5 separate regions of the Homo sapiens genome follow, and all the other regions are linked to region 3. The links are contacts of gene promoters, found by promoter capture Hi-C in blood cells and fetal thymus (Javierre and others, 2016). All regions are on one chromosome and are shown on one strand. Each heading gives the region's core, a stretch centred on a gene start or on the middle of the fragment in contact. The rest is flanking DNA. Distances are from core to core; before and after follow the strand shown.

The links. Contacts are between HindIII fragments. The CHiCAGO score rates a contact against its expected background, and 5 or more counts as called.
Region 1: a contact is called between a fragment that was not itself captured here and the fragment with the promoter of LRP1-AS in region 3, in 3 of 17 cell types (total B cells, total CD8 T cells and activated CD4 T cells). The highest score is 5.7, in total B cells.
Region 2: a fragment that was not itself captured here is called in contact with the fragment with the promoter of LRP1-AS in region 3 in 4 of 17 cell types (M2 macrophages, M0 macrophages, total CD8 T cells and 1 more); the score reaches 6.9 in M2 macrophages.
Region 4: a contact is called between a fragment that was not itself captured here and the fragment with the promoter of LRP1-AS in region 3, in 1 of 17 cell types (monocytes). The highest score is 5.3, in monocytes.
Region 5: a fragment that was not itself captured here is called in contact with the fragment with the promoter of LRP1-AS in region 3 in 2 of 17 cell types (M0 macrophages and M1 macrophages); the score reaches 6.4 in M0 macrophages.

What each region holds. Positions count from the first base shown.
Region 1 is chr12:56,738,805-56,741,504 of GRCh38, reverse strand. PRIM1 (DNA primase subunit 1) reads left to right here. Exons shown (of 13, transcript NM_000946.3): 9 at 1-70; 10 at 2,142-2,211. Among named protein-coding and RNA genes, the nearest start is that of PRIM1, 12 kb to the left of the region's middle. The HindIII fragment of the contact is 3,398 bases long and covers 1-2,700 here.
Region 2 is chr12:56,756,311-56,759,071 of GRCh38, reverse strand. No RefSeq gene overlaps it. Among named protein-coding and RNA genes, the nearest start is that of PRIM1, 5.4 kb to the right of the region's middle. The HindIII fragment of the contact is 3,519 bases long and covers 1-2,761 here.
Region 3 is chr12:57,146,324-57,149,162 of GRCh38, reverse strand. LRP1-AS (LRP1 antisense RNA) reads left to right here and starts at 1,544. Exons shown (of 2, transcript NR_131938.2): 1 at 1,544-1,724. All of the region lies in intron 6 of LRP1 (LDL receptor related protein 1), which reads right to left. RefSeq lists enhancers at 1-144, 2,002-2,839. The HindIII fragment of the contact is 5,560 bases long and covers 1,010-2,839 here.
Region 4 is chr12:56,659,082-56,661,781 of GRCh38, reverse strand. No RefSeq gene overlaps it. Among named protein-coding and RNA genes, the nearest start is that of ATP5F1B, 14 kb to the right of the region's middle. RefSeq lists a silencer at 1,111-1,311. The HindIII fragment of the contact is 2,808 bases long and covers 1-2,700 here.
Region 5 is chr12:56,719,846-56,722,545 of GRCh38, reverse strand. It overlaps NACA (nascent polypeptide associated complex subunit alpha), which reads left to right. Exons shown (of 9, transcript NM_001365896.1): 3 at 1,087-2,700. Among named protein-coding and RNA genes, the nearest start is that of NACA, 4.1 kb to the left of the region's middle. RefSeq lists an enhancer at 1,611-1,730. The HindIII fragment of the contact is 4,291 bases long and covers 1-2,700 here.

The DNA.
Region 1 (2,700 bases), core at 144-2,643, 410 kb after region 3:
CTGGATATCAATGTCAGCAAAGGAATCAATCATCTACTGAAGAGCCCTTTTAGTGTTCATCCTAAAACAGGTACTACACAAGGAAACTAAGGAAAACTAAAAGAAAAATGAGTTGCTATTGGCTTTAGTAAGCATGGCATTAGGTCTGAATATATATAATGTCTATGATTTAAAGGTAGAAGAATTGCTCTGTCACCCAATACCTAAGTCAGTTAAGTAGCTACCAGATGAGTTTCTACTATGTAACTGTTTTTCAGTTGGGTTTCTGAGGTTCCATATTAGATTTGGAGAGGACCATCAAAATCTTAGGACAACAGCTCTCATTGTACAGATGAGAAAACAGTGGCCCAAGATGTAACCCATCCAAGGTCATAAAAAAAAAATTGTGTGTGACTGTATGTGGTAGCTTGCTCCTGTAATCCCAGCACTTGAGGAGGGCAAGGTGGGCAAATCACTTGAGCCCCAGAGTCTAACACCAGCCTAGGCCACATGTCTAAACACCCTTTGTACAAAAAATACAAAAATTAGCTAGACGTGGTGGTGCATGCCTGTAGTTCCAGCTACTCAAGAGGCTGAGGCAGGAGGATCACTTGAGCCTGGGAAGTTGAGGCTGCAGTGAGCTGTGATGGTGCCACTGCACTCCAGCCTGGGCAACAGAGTGAGACCCTGTCTCAAAAAAAAGAAAAAAAGAAAGAAATGAAATGAACTCTACTCCTAGCACTGACAAAAACAAAAAAAAATTTTTTTCGAGAAAGAGTCTCACTCTGTCACCCAGGCTGGAGTGCACTGGTGCAATCTCGGCTCACCGATCGGCTCAAGCGATCCTTCTGCCTCACCCTCCTGAGTAGCTGGTACTACAGGCATGTGCTACCACAGCCAGCTAATATTTTGTAGACAGGGTTTTGCCATGTTGCCCAGGTTGGTCTTGAACTCTTGAGCTCAAGCAATTCACCTGCCCCAGTCTCCCAAAGTGCTGGGATTACAGACAAGAGCCACTGCGCCCAGCCTCATTACGTCACTTTTGAGATGTGTTAAATTCTATATGGTATCCTAGGGGGGTATTATAAAAGAGTAGAGGAATTTCTATTTTATTTCCTAAATGCTTTTTAAAGGTGTCTGACATGTGGGTATCTGTATTGATCTCAAATAAACCAAGCCAATGTAAATATTATAGTTTCATCTATTTTGTTCTATTTTCAGGACTCACTAACTCTGAGATTGTTCTGAACTTAAATATGGAATATTTAAATATACTTTATTTCTAAATATAGAAATAAAAGTAGGGATAAGAGCAACTGGGAAATAGCTCAACAGTCTTCACATTTGCTTATTGGTTTTTGTTTTTGTTTTTTTTCTTTCCTTTTTTTTCGAGACAGAGTCCCACTCTGTCACCCAGGCTGGAGTACAGTGGCGCGATCTTGGCTCACTGCAGCCTCTGCCTTCCAGGTTCAAGCAATTCTCTGCCTCACCCTCCCAAGTAGCTGGGATTACAGGTACCCGCCACCACACCCAGCTAATTTTTGTATTTTTAGTAGAGACGGGGTTTCACCATCTTGGCCAGGCTGGTCTTGAACTCCTGACCTTGTGATCCACCCTCCTCAGCCTCCCAGAGTGCTGGGATTACAGGCGTGAGCCACTGCACCTGGCTGGTTTTTTAAAGAGAAATAAAAGGCATGCTGGACATGGTCATTCACACCTGTAATCCCAGCAACTCAGGAGGCTGAGGCAAGAGGATTGTTTGAGGCCAGGAGTTCTGGGCAACATAGTGAGACCCCAACTCAACAAAAATTGAAAAACTGGCCAGGCCAGGAGCAGTAGCTCACGTCTATAATCCTAGCACTTTGGGAGACAACTGAGGTGGGAGGATCACTTGAGCCCAGGACATCAAGCCTGCAGTGAGCTATGACCATGCTACTGTATGTACTCTAGCATGGGTGACAAAGTGAGGCATTAACTCTAAAAAAGAGTAAGGGCACAGCTAATGTGAAAGTAATTTATATTTCTAAATACTCTTCTTAACAGATAAGTTTAACCCTTTGTCTAAGCCTTAAATAAAAATTTTAACCAAAAATAACCTGTAGGAGATGACTATAATGATTTATAGTCCACAATCATCAGTTTATAACTTTTGTGTCTTACAGGTCGCATATCTGTGCCTATTGATTTGCAGAAAGTGGACCAGTTTGATCCATTTACTGTTCCGACCATAAGGTATGTTTCAGATCATTGATCACTCCTTGTTTGTAATTGTTGTTATGAATTTTAAATAAATTGAATTAGCCTCCTTAGAGAAGTAGTTGCATGGGAATGGTATATTTGGTTATGGAAACCAAATAAGGTTCAAAGGTTAGATGACGATGCCCTAATAGAACAATACAAGATTTTCACCTGCTGTTATGTAAGAAAAAGATTTTAAGGTCAAGTAAATTTAGGAAATTCTGACTTAAACAGATTAAAAGTATCTTTTACTACAGTATTTCACAGTCTTTCATATGATAATATGCATGAAAAACTCCAAGAAGAGATCATGGTGTTTAGAATATCCCAAATTTAGCTGGCCGCATAATTTTTTTACAGTAAATTTTATGGGATTCACATGCTATTATACACTGGATAATGCTGATCAGAAACCAACATTAAACTTCTCTTGTTCGTGGTGAGGCGCGGTGGCTCATGCCTGTAATCCCAACACTTTGGGAG
Region 2 (2,761 bases), core at 208-2,707, 390 kb after region 3:
TCATCCCTTTGACCCCAACCACTCAATGACCCCAATTTTCCAGTCCCTCATTCTCCACAATCCCCTTAAAAACCCCAGCCCAGAACTCCTCAGGGAGATGGACTTGAAGATCTCCTCTCATCTCCTTGCTCAGCCGCCCTGCAATCATTAAACTCTTTCTCTGCTGCAAACCCTACTGTCTCAGTGTATTGGTATGTTGCTGTGCAGTGGGCATACAAACCTGTTGGTCCTGTAACATATTTTCTAATCTTCTCTTCTTTATTTTATTAACAAGGAAAATAACTAACATAGGAGTACTCCAAGTTTTCAAGCAACTTACTTACTTCAACAGGATTTTAACTCCCAAGGCTTCTTGTCAAATATTAATAGGATCAATAGTTTATTTTCATTTTAACCAAATAAAGTAGATGATGAATAATTTTTACTTCCACACTCCTTAACTTGGCAGGCAATGCTCTGACCATGGCTTACCTCTTAGCCCCATCTCTCACTATACCCTCCCTTGAAGTCTGGGCTCTGTCCATATGAAACTATTGGCAGCTTCCCAAAAGTGCCATTTATACTTTTGTGCCTGTGTTCCCTGTACTAATCTTATCCATGTCTTAAGAACATGGCAAAACAAATAGACAGTTGGGTTAAAAATGCACCTATAATACTTCATTACGCTTTTTTGGGGCGGGGGGACAGGGTCTTGCTCTATCACCAGGCTGGAGTACAGTGGCATAATCACAGCTCACTGCAGCCTCAACCTCCTGGGCTCAAGCAATCCACCTCAGCCTCCCTGGGACTACAGGCATGAGCAACCATGCCACACTAATTATTGTATTTTTTGTAGAGATGGGGTTTCGCCATGTTGGCCAGGCTGGTCTCAAACTTCTGAGCTCAAGTGATCCACCTGCCTCTGCCTATCAAAATGCTAGGATTACAGACATGAGCCACCATGCCCAGCTCATTCATTACACTTTTTTATTTGTGTCTATTGCCCCTAGTATGATATAGCTTTCTCAGAAGCAGAAATAATGTCATTAATTATTTTCCCCACAGTTCATCTCAGTGCCCAACACATATGTTCATTAACTATTTGTGGAATAAATGAATGAATTCATGAATGACTGAATCAACCATACCTTTACAGAATAGATCATCCTTTCAGATGCTAAAAACACCCAGAATAACAATAGGACTTAAACTAGACAGGCAATCAATGAGGCAAGTGTCGAAGTCTGCAAACAACATGGGGCAAGAAACTTGAGGCTGATAGATATACCACAAAAAAAGACTAAAAACGATGGTAGAGCCAGGTAGCATAAGGACTGAAGGAAAAAAGGGGTTTGCACCTATGTGTATGAAATCACAAAGGGAAACAAACTGAATGGTGATACTGCCTCCCAGTGGCATTTGAGATAAAGGCCTCTATGCCAGAGCACTTTTTTTTTTTTTTTTTTTTTTTTTGAAATGGAGTCTCACTCTGTCGCCAGTCTGCAGTACAGTGGCGCCATCTCAGCTCACTGCAACCTCCGACTCCCTGGTTCAAGCGATTCTCCTGCCTCAGCCTCCCGAGTAGCTGGGACTACAGGCACATGCCACCACGCCCGGCTAGTAATTTTTTTGTATTTTTAGTAGAGATGGGGTTTCACTATGCTGGCCAGGCTTGTTTCAAACTCCTGACCTCATTATCTGCCTGTCTCGGCCTCCCAAAGTGCTGGGATTACAGGCATGAGCCACCTGGCCTGGCCCGTTCCTCTGAATATACTTAATATACCCGAGGTGGGCTGATTGCTTGAGCCCAGAAGTTCGAGACCAGCCTGGACAACACGGTGAGATCCCATCTCTACAAAAAATAAAAATAACAATAAATTTAAAATTTAACCCTTTTCCCATTTGCCCCAAGAATACTTGCTGGCAGCACTTGTAGCTGCAGCATTTATCCAGAGATAACTTTGCCGTGAAATATCTTGCTTTTATTATTTTCATATTGCTCTAGTATTACTGACTTTGGAAACAAAAGACATCATTCTATTAACAGCATTCTGTTTTCAGTAGTGGTACTTCCACTTACAAAATACAGTAATTCTGATCATTAAAACTGTCAAATCCTAGAAAATGCTGAATTCCTATGTATGATGTTAACATCATTCTTTGATTAATCCACAATTCTAATTATTCCAATGACTTTAATGTTAGTTCTGTTTAGAAATAACTCCAAGAGGCCAGGCGCAGTGGCTCCCACCTGTAATCCCAGCACTTTGGGAGGATGAGGTGGGTGGGTCGCCTCAGGTCAGGAGTTCAAGACCAGACTGGCCAACATGGTGAAACCCCATCTCTACTAAAAATACACAAATTAGCCGGGCATGTGGGCAGGCACCTGTAATCCCAGCTACTCAGGAGGCTGAGGCAGGAGAATGGCTCGAGCCTGGGAGGCAGAGGGTGCAGTGAGCCGAGATTGCACCACTGCATTCCAGCCTGGGCGACTGAGCGGGACTCTACCTCAAAAGAAAGAAAGAGAGAGAAAGAGAGAGAGAGAGAGAGAAAGAAAAAGAAAGAGAAAGAAAGAAAGAGAGAGAGAGAGAGAAAGAACTCCAAGAACAGTTTTTATATTTTATTTTCACATTGGAAATCAGTCAGATTTGTTTCAGCCTCAAAGAGCATGCTTATGTAAAATTAAATGACTGCTGGCAGCGAGCTGCACTTTTTCCTTCCAAACAGGAAAAGCGTTAAAAAAAAAAAAAAAAAAAAAAAGAGGCTAGGCGTGGTGGCTCAC
Region 3 (2,839 bases), core at 295-2,794:
TTGTAGGCAGGGTGGGAGGCTGAGAGGGTCCAGGGGTGCCCAGCACAGTGGGGAGGTAGCACCCCTTCCAGCAGCAGCAGCCAGTTCATTAGACTCAGAGGGACTGCTGTCTGCCCCTTCTTTGCCTCCCCTCTAGACAAATCACTACCCCATTTCCTGTTGTGATTTCGAAAACACACACACTAAAAAAATAAATAAATAAAAGAAAGGGAGAGGAAGGGAAAAGTGAAGTTGGCCAGCTGGACCTGGGACCCATTTCGCAACCTTGCTGCCTGCAGCCTAGGGGCCCTTTGCTGAGCTCCCCAGCCACCTCCTTCTTCCCCATGCAGCATGGTGCAGGGAGGGGAACCCTGAGACCTCTGAGAGCCCCTTCAGACCATCCTTTCACACACAGTCCAAACTCCTGAGTGACTTCAGCAAACCCGATTTCCTTCAAGGCCTCTATTTACAACCTCAGAACCTCCCCTCACCATACACACCCATGTTCCCAGGACCCCAATCTTGCAGTCTGCCTCATTCTTTCTACAGTGGTGGCATCCTCCAAGGTGAAGGGAATACAGATCAGAGGAGCTCAGCTTAGGAAATGCAGGGCTGGGCTGGGGTCGGTAGACTGCACCACCAGGCCTGCCCAGGGGCAGCCTGGCAGGAGGCTGGACAAAGCTGGGTTACAGGCTCCATAGGCCTCTGGAGCTGAGAGACTGGTCAGAGGTGGGGGTGAGAGTGCGCAGGCCTGGTTCCTGACTAAGGGACTATCAGGCCTGTTGATCCCTCTGGGCCTCAATTTTCAGAACTTTAGTCTTTTGTGTATCACTTTCAAAATGTCTACCATGCTTATGTACAGCTTGCGCTACTGTTTATTACCAGTTATTTCAATTAACTTACTTTTCTTATTTCGCTGCATGCTAAACAATTGCTGAAGTAACAGATTTGATGTGCTAGTTACAGGAGTTTCCTAATGCATATCAAATAAAAACGTAACTATAACAGTTAAAAAAAAAAAAAAAAAGCTTGTCCAGGTACCATCTAAAATCAAATCAATGCATAGCCCCTTTGAGAAAGCAGTAGTGAAAGCCAGGGCTGCTCTTGGTACTGGCCAAGGGTCTTGCCTTCTCTTCCGGCTCTCACCATGGAGTTCTCTGGTCTTGGAATTCGAGCCTCATAGACCTCCCCAAACCACTGGGCCAGCGGCAGAGGGGAGGGGGAGGTAATCTCAGGTGGGAGGAAAAGAGATGACCCACCCAATCCAGGGGGATAACACTGGGCCTGAGGCAGGAGGGTCAGCAGCCCTGGGGCATTGAAGAGGAATGTTCACACACTGCAGGGCCTCAGGGGGGCCCTCGGGGGCTCTCAGGACTCCACAACAGGTCTGACTCACATGGCCCAGGACACATGTGAACCAGGCTCATTTCCTGGCCTCCTTCCTTCTTTCTATTCTATTTCTGCTTCCAGAGTTTTCTCTGGGGCAGGCTCCCCCTTCTGCCTGCACCAGCGGGCTGGCCTCGCTGGCTCGAACACCCCTCAATTGTCAGACTCCTCCCTCTGTGTGCACCCCTGCTGCATGAGGCTCAGCCCCAGGGGTCCAACAGAGGTCACAGTCACAGCACAGAATGGAAGGCTTGCAGGGAGGGCTGCCCTGGAGGGCAGAGTGAAAGCAGGGGAAAGCTGCAGCCTTTCTTCTTCGTCCTCCTTGGGGAGCTAATTACAGGCCAGCAGCCACTGTGCAGGTGAGTGCCTGGGACCAGCCACCCTACACACCAGGGCAGGCCAGTCAGCATCTCCTGGGGAGGGGGATGACCCAGAAACTGGGGGAGGGGCTAGGGGAGAGACACTGACGTCCTCAGTTTGGGACCCATAATTAGTTTGTGGGAGAGAGCAAAACAACCATCCTCAGGGTGACAGCCAGACATTCAGGCGGCAGGGACGTGGAGCAGGGGGAGGGCAGGGAGGAAGGGACAGAAGCTGGGATGAGAGAAACCCACTCATTTACCCCACAAGCATTTCCCCTTGGACTCTTCTAGCCTCCTGGACTCTGCCCCTGAGAGGCCCAGTGAGTTTAGCAGACTGGGAGGCAAGGCAAATCTGTTTGCCAAGGGAGGGGTACCAGCTTCTCCTGGGGAGGAAGTCAGATAAGGAGATGAGGCCAGAGTAGAAGTTGAGAAGGTTACCTCCAGGACACCCCATAGCCACCTACCCAGAAGCCCACTGTATGGCAAGATGCAGGGCTGGGGAGGAAACTGACAAGCTGTCTGCCCAGACAGGCCTGTTGAGTAGGTCAGTGGACAAGGAACAGGGGGAGGGCAGCTGCACAAGAGGGTCTAGCACCAATCCCACCCCATCAGCCATGGGGTTCCCTGAGTCGCCCACTCGTTAAGAGCTCAGCCAACCAGGCTTGACAGCCCCCAGCTCAGCACCCCAAGGAGGACACATGTCTGATCACAGGTGAGCTGTGGACAGCAGCAGCCCAAGGACGCTATCAGGGATGCTCTGGAGGAGCCAAAGGCAGAAATGTGAACCTTACGCTGAGGCCACGGAGAGTGAGGGCTCTCAGAGGAACCCCTGCTCGCCACCATCCCGGGGAGGGGCCTTTCTCTCTCCCAGAATGAATCCCTTGTAACCTCCTGGGATCTTTCTTTTCATCACAAGAACCAAATAAAGAAACTTGAAGATCTTCTAGAGAGGCCCAAGGTTCACAATCCTCAACTTCAAAGTGTGCTGTCCTTTACCACTGGCTTTCACTCCAGTTAATCTGATCTAGACAGACAAGCTCAAACCCATTATGCAGATTAGGAAACCAAGGCAGAGATGGGAATTCTGGTTTACTAAACAGTTACAGATCAAG
Region 4 (2,700 bases), core at 95-2,594, 490 kb after region 3:
GGCGCCACTGCACTCCAGCCTGGGCGGCAGAGCGAGACTGTCTCAAAAAATGTTCTGGGCTGGGCGTGGTGACTCATGCCTGGCCAACATGGCAAAACCCCCTCTCAAAAAAAAAAAATGATCAATTTAAGATTGTGAGTGAAATTTTTTAAGTTTAGATGAATGGGTATAGCATATTTTTTGTCCATATTGATAGGTTGTGATATTGGTGCTATACGGTTCCCTAAACTTAGCTATTTCCAAGGAGGGCAGATTGAGGGTGATTGCTACAGTAGCATGAAGGTTTTCTCCCCCATTTTAGTTCTAAGCTAATTGAAATTTCTCCTGTTTAGCAGGAATTCTTTTGAGAAATTTTTGAAAATACAATTTTTTATTTGTGGATCACCCAGCATTGTACCAAATAGGAAAAGATGTAGGCTAGGTAGGGAGGAGGCTGGCACTTTGTGAAAAACTTAACATCTAGTTGCTTTGATAGTGATTAAATAAATTGATAACTAAGGGTGTAATAGGGAATACAGAGTAGGACTTCCTGGTCGAATCTAGCAGCCTGTGCAAATAAGAGGACAACTGAAATGGAGTTCTAGGGTGGCAGTAGGATGGAGAATTTTAACAGTGAATTCTAAGGATTTTTGTAAAGGCCTGTTCTAACCCCTACATTCTGTCATCCTTGAGCACTTGAACCTTGAACAACATGGGTTTGAACCCCTTTTAGGTGGATTTTTTCCAACCAAATGCAGGTCAAAAATACAGTATTTGTAAAATGCCAAACCCATGAATACGGAGGGTTCTGTCTGATTTTGGTATGCTTGGTGGTGGAGGGGTCATGAAACCACTCCTCTGGAATATACCAAGGGACAATTGTGTTTTTTTGTTTTTTGTTTTTTTGAGACAGAGTCTCGCTCTGTCGCTGAGGCTGGAGTGCAGTGGCACAATTTCGGCTCACTGCAATCTCTGAATTCCCAGGTTCAAGCAATTCTCCTGCCTCAGCCTTCCGAGTAGCTGGGACTACAGGCGTGTGCCACCATGCCCAGCTAATTTTTATATTTTTACTAGAGATGGGGTTTCACCATGTTGGCCAGGCTGATCTGTGGGTTTCATTTAAACATTGACCACAATTAAATGTTGAATGTCTATTCCTGCTAGTAAAAAGCGTCGTATATCGCCACCAAATATCTTTCCCTCAACACAGTATGGTGAAATACATTTCAGAAATACCATAGCATGAGTAATGTTTTGCAGGTGGATTTGGAGGTAAAGAAACAAGTTTGTGCAGTAATTCAAGTGGTAAGAGATGAAGGGCTAAATTTAGGCAATGGTAATGGGATCTGGAATCCAGGTATATGTAGGTGGTCAAATAAGGCTTGGTGACAACTCATTTAAGATATTGCCAGGCTTGGCCGGGTGCGGTGGCTCACGCTTGTAATCCCAGCACTTTGGGAGGCCGAGGCGGGCAGATCATGAGGTTAGGAGTTGGAGACCAGCCTGGCCAACACAGTGAAATGCTGTCTCTACTAAAAATACAAAAATTAGCTGGGCATGGTGGCATGCGCCTGTAATCCCAGCTACTCAGGAGGCTGAGGCAGGAGAATTGCTTGAACCCAGGAGGTGGAGGTTGCAGTGAGCTGAGATCAAGCCACTGCACTCCAGCCCACGGGACAGAACTAGACTCCATCTCAAAAAGAAAAAAATAATGATATTGCCAGGCTTGCTTTGCTCTTCCCAGATAGTCTAAAGTGACAAATCATTTGTTCGCAAGTTGTATTGTCAGTCTGGGTAATTTCATTGTTCATGTGAAGAACTTATCCAGAACTCACTCCTAAATTATTTATTTATTTATTTATTTAGACACGGAGTCACTTTTTGACATGGAGGCATGATCTCGGCTCACTGCAGCCTGTTTCCCAGGTTCAAGCGATCCTTCTGCCTCAGCTCTCTGAGTAGCTGGGATTACAGCCATGTGCCACCACTCCTGGCTAATTTTTGTATTTTTAGTAGAGATGGGGTTTCACCTGGTTGGCCAAGCTGGTCTCAAACGCCTGACCTCAAGTGATCCACCCACCTCAGCCTCCCAAAGTGCTGGGATTACAGGATTGAGCCATTGTGCCAGGCCAATCCTGAATTTCTTTTCTTTTCTTTTTTTTTTTTTTTTTTGAGACGGAGTTTTGCTCTTGTTGCCCAGGCTGGAGTGCAGTGGCGTAATCTCAGCTCACTGCAACCTCCATCTCCCAGGTTCAAGAGATTCTCCTGCCTCAGCCTTCCCAAGTAGCTGGGATTATAGGCATGCGCCACCAAGCCCAGCTAATATTGTATTTTTAGTAGAGATGGGGTTTCTCTGTGTGGGTCGGGCTGGTCTCAAACTCCCGACCTCAGGTGATCTGCCCACCTTGGCCTCCCAAAGTGCTGGGATTACAGGCGTGAGCTACCCTGCCCAGCCCCAATCCTAAATTTCTTAATCTCAAATCCAATGGCCTTCAGTTGAGTACTTAGCAACCCATTCCCATTATGTATCTCATCATCATGAGTGAAAGAACTGCAAAGCTGCTTATACTACAACTAAGTGTCATGCAGTCTAACTGCCCCTCAACCACTGTTCCTTCTCTGGCCTCACAGCTAATTAGCCTTTATAGCTTTAGTTACTTCCCTATTTCTATTGCGCTGTGATTCATCTTGAACCTATTCTCAAACAATCAAAATCATGGA
Region 5 (2,700 bases), core at 121-2,620, 430 kb after region 3:
CAGCTAATTTTTGTATTTTTAGTAGAGACGGGGTTTCACCATGTTGGTCAGGTCGGTCTGGAACTCCTGACCTCGTGATCCGCCCTCCCAGGCATCCCGAAGTGCTGGGATTACAGGCATGAGCCACTGTTACAGGCTCTCCAATTCTCTTCTTCCAAAATAGCACCACAATCTGGTTTAACAAGTTAGGTTACAGTTTCATAATACAGTCCCTACCCTTGTGAGTAAGCTCTCTGCCTGGAGGTCTAATTCATGTCTAATTCATCTTGGATTGATGTCTGAAGAATTAACATCACCTAGGAAGGTTTATAGAGACTATTACAGTCCTTTTGTGGTTGGTTTTCTTGTTTGGGTTTTGTGAGTAAGTAAACTGGTAAGGTATAAAGAAGCTAAGTGACTTTAATACTTGATATTAAATTCTGAAGTGTTTCAACTTTAGGAAGAACTGAATTGTGCTGTGCACCTCCTTCCCAAAACTATTCTAACAGAGTCAGATGTTTCCTAGCCTAGTGGAAGCCTGAAAGTATAAAAGCCTGTGTTTTCTTATTCAGTTCAGATTCCCCATCATCGTCACTGCTCACTAACTTCTTTGTTCCAGTTTTCAGTATCTTTTCTGTTCATGATATTTGGGTGGACAGAGTAGCACAGCTGTTCTTCTCGTGGGAATTCTGTTGGCTGTGAGAAAGACTTGGGAATACAGTCCATTTCAAGAAGTAAGGGGAGGGCACAACTGGGAAAGGATAGAAAGCATGTTGTTCTCAACCTACCAAGAGTCTGTGCTCCCCATTTAGAGATAGGCTGCTCTTAGACTGTTCTCCTCACCCTAAAATAGTTGGTTTACTTTGGTAGAACTTGGGGAAGTGTGAGAAATTAGGAGGGGAATGTCTTCTCACTTGACCACTGAAAAATGTTTGGGGAAGGTTGTTGTTGCCTGTCACCTTTATCTAATCCTGCGTGGTGACTTAGACTGTCAGATTTTAAACTCCAGTGTTTCCTAGGAGGCATGTTGTACCAAGTTGGGCTGCATAACTCACCTTTTTTCTCCTCCCCCTCCCCCTTTCTTTATCTCCTTTTGCCTTTCTCCAGCTGTGCTACCTATGTCTTCAGCCTTGAGTGTCACTGCTGCCTTAGGGCAGCCTGGACCTACCCTCCCCCCTCCTTGCTCTCCTGCCCCACAACAGTGCCCTCTCTCAGCTGCTAACCAGGCTTCCCCATTCCCTTCCCCCTCTACTATTGCCTCGACCCCTTTAGAAGTTCCTTTTCCCCAGTCATCCTCTGGAACAGCCCTACCTTTGGGAACTGCCCCTGAAGCCCCAACCTTCCTACCAAACCTAATAGGGCCTCCCATCTCCCCAGCTGCCTTAGCTCTAGCCTCTCCCATGATAGCTCCAACTCTGAAAGGGACCCCTTCCTCTTCAGCTCCCTTAGCTCTGGTTGCCCTGGCTCCCCACTCAGTTCAGAAGAGTTCTGCTTTTCCACCTAACCTTCTTACTTCACCTCCTTCAGTGGCTGTAGCTGAGTCAGGGTCAGTGATAACTCTGTCAGCTCCCATTGCTCCCTCAGAACCAAAGACTAATCTTAATAAAGTTCCCTCTGAGGTAGTCCCTAATCCAAAAGGCACCCCCAGCCCTCCATGTATAGTCAGTACTGTTCCTTACCACTGTGTGACTCCCATGGCCTCTATTCAATCTGGAGTGGCCTCCCTTCCTCAGACAACACCCACAACTACCCTAGCCATCGCTTCCCCTCAAGTCAAAGATACCACCATTTCCTCAGTTCTGATTTCTCCACAAAACCCAGGAAGCCTCAGCCTGAAGGGGCCTGTTAGTCCACCTGCTGCCTTATCTCTTTCAACTCAGTCTCTTCCTGTGGTGACCTCTTCTCAAAAGACTGCGGGTCCCAACACCCCCCCAGATTTTCCCATTTCTCTGGGCTCTCATCTTGCACCTTTACATCAGAGTTCTTTTGGTTCTGTCCAACTTTTAGGTCAAACAGGTCCTAGTGCTTTGTCAGACCCTACAGTGAAGACCATTTCTGTAGATCATTCTTCCACAGGGGCCTCTTATCCTTCTCAGAGATCTGTAATTCCTCCCCTTCCTTCCAGAAATGAGGTAGTTCCTGCTACTGTGGCTGCCTTTCCAGTGGTGGCTCCATCTGTTGACAAAGGTCCCTCTACCATCTCTAGCATAACCTGCAGCCCTTCTGGCTCCTTAAATGTAGCTACCTCTTTTTCATTATCTCCTACAACCTCTCTCATTCTCAAAAGCTCTCCTAATGCCACTTATCATTATCCTTTAGTGGCCCAAATGCCCGTTTCTTCTGTTGGAACCACCCCACTTGTGGTGACTAACCCCTGTACAATTGCTGCAGCACCTACTACTACCTTTGAGGTAGCTACTTGTGTTTCTCCTCCAATGTCATCAGGTCCCATAAGTAACATAGAACCAACTTCCCCTGCTGCCTTGGTTATGGCACCTGTGGCTCCCAAAGAGCCTTCTACTCAAGTAGCAACCACTCTGAGGATACCAGTCTCTCCTCCTCTGCCAGACCCTGAAGACCTCAAAAATCTCCCCAGTTCAGTATTGGTTAAATTTCCAACACAAAAAGACCTCCAAACTGTACCTGCCTCTCTTGAAGGAGCCCCTTTCTCTCCAGCCCAAGCAGGACTCACCACCAAGAAAGACCCTACTGTATTACCGT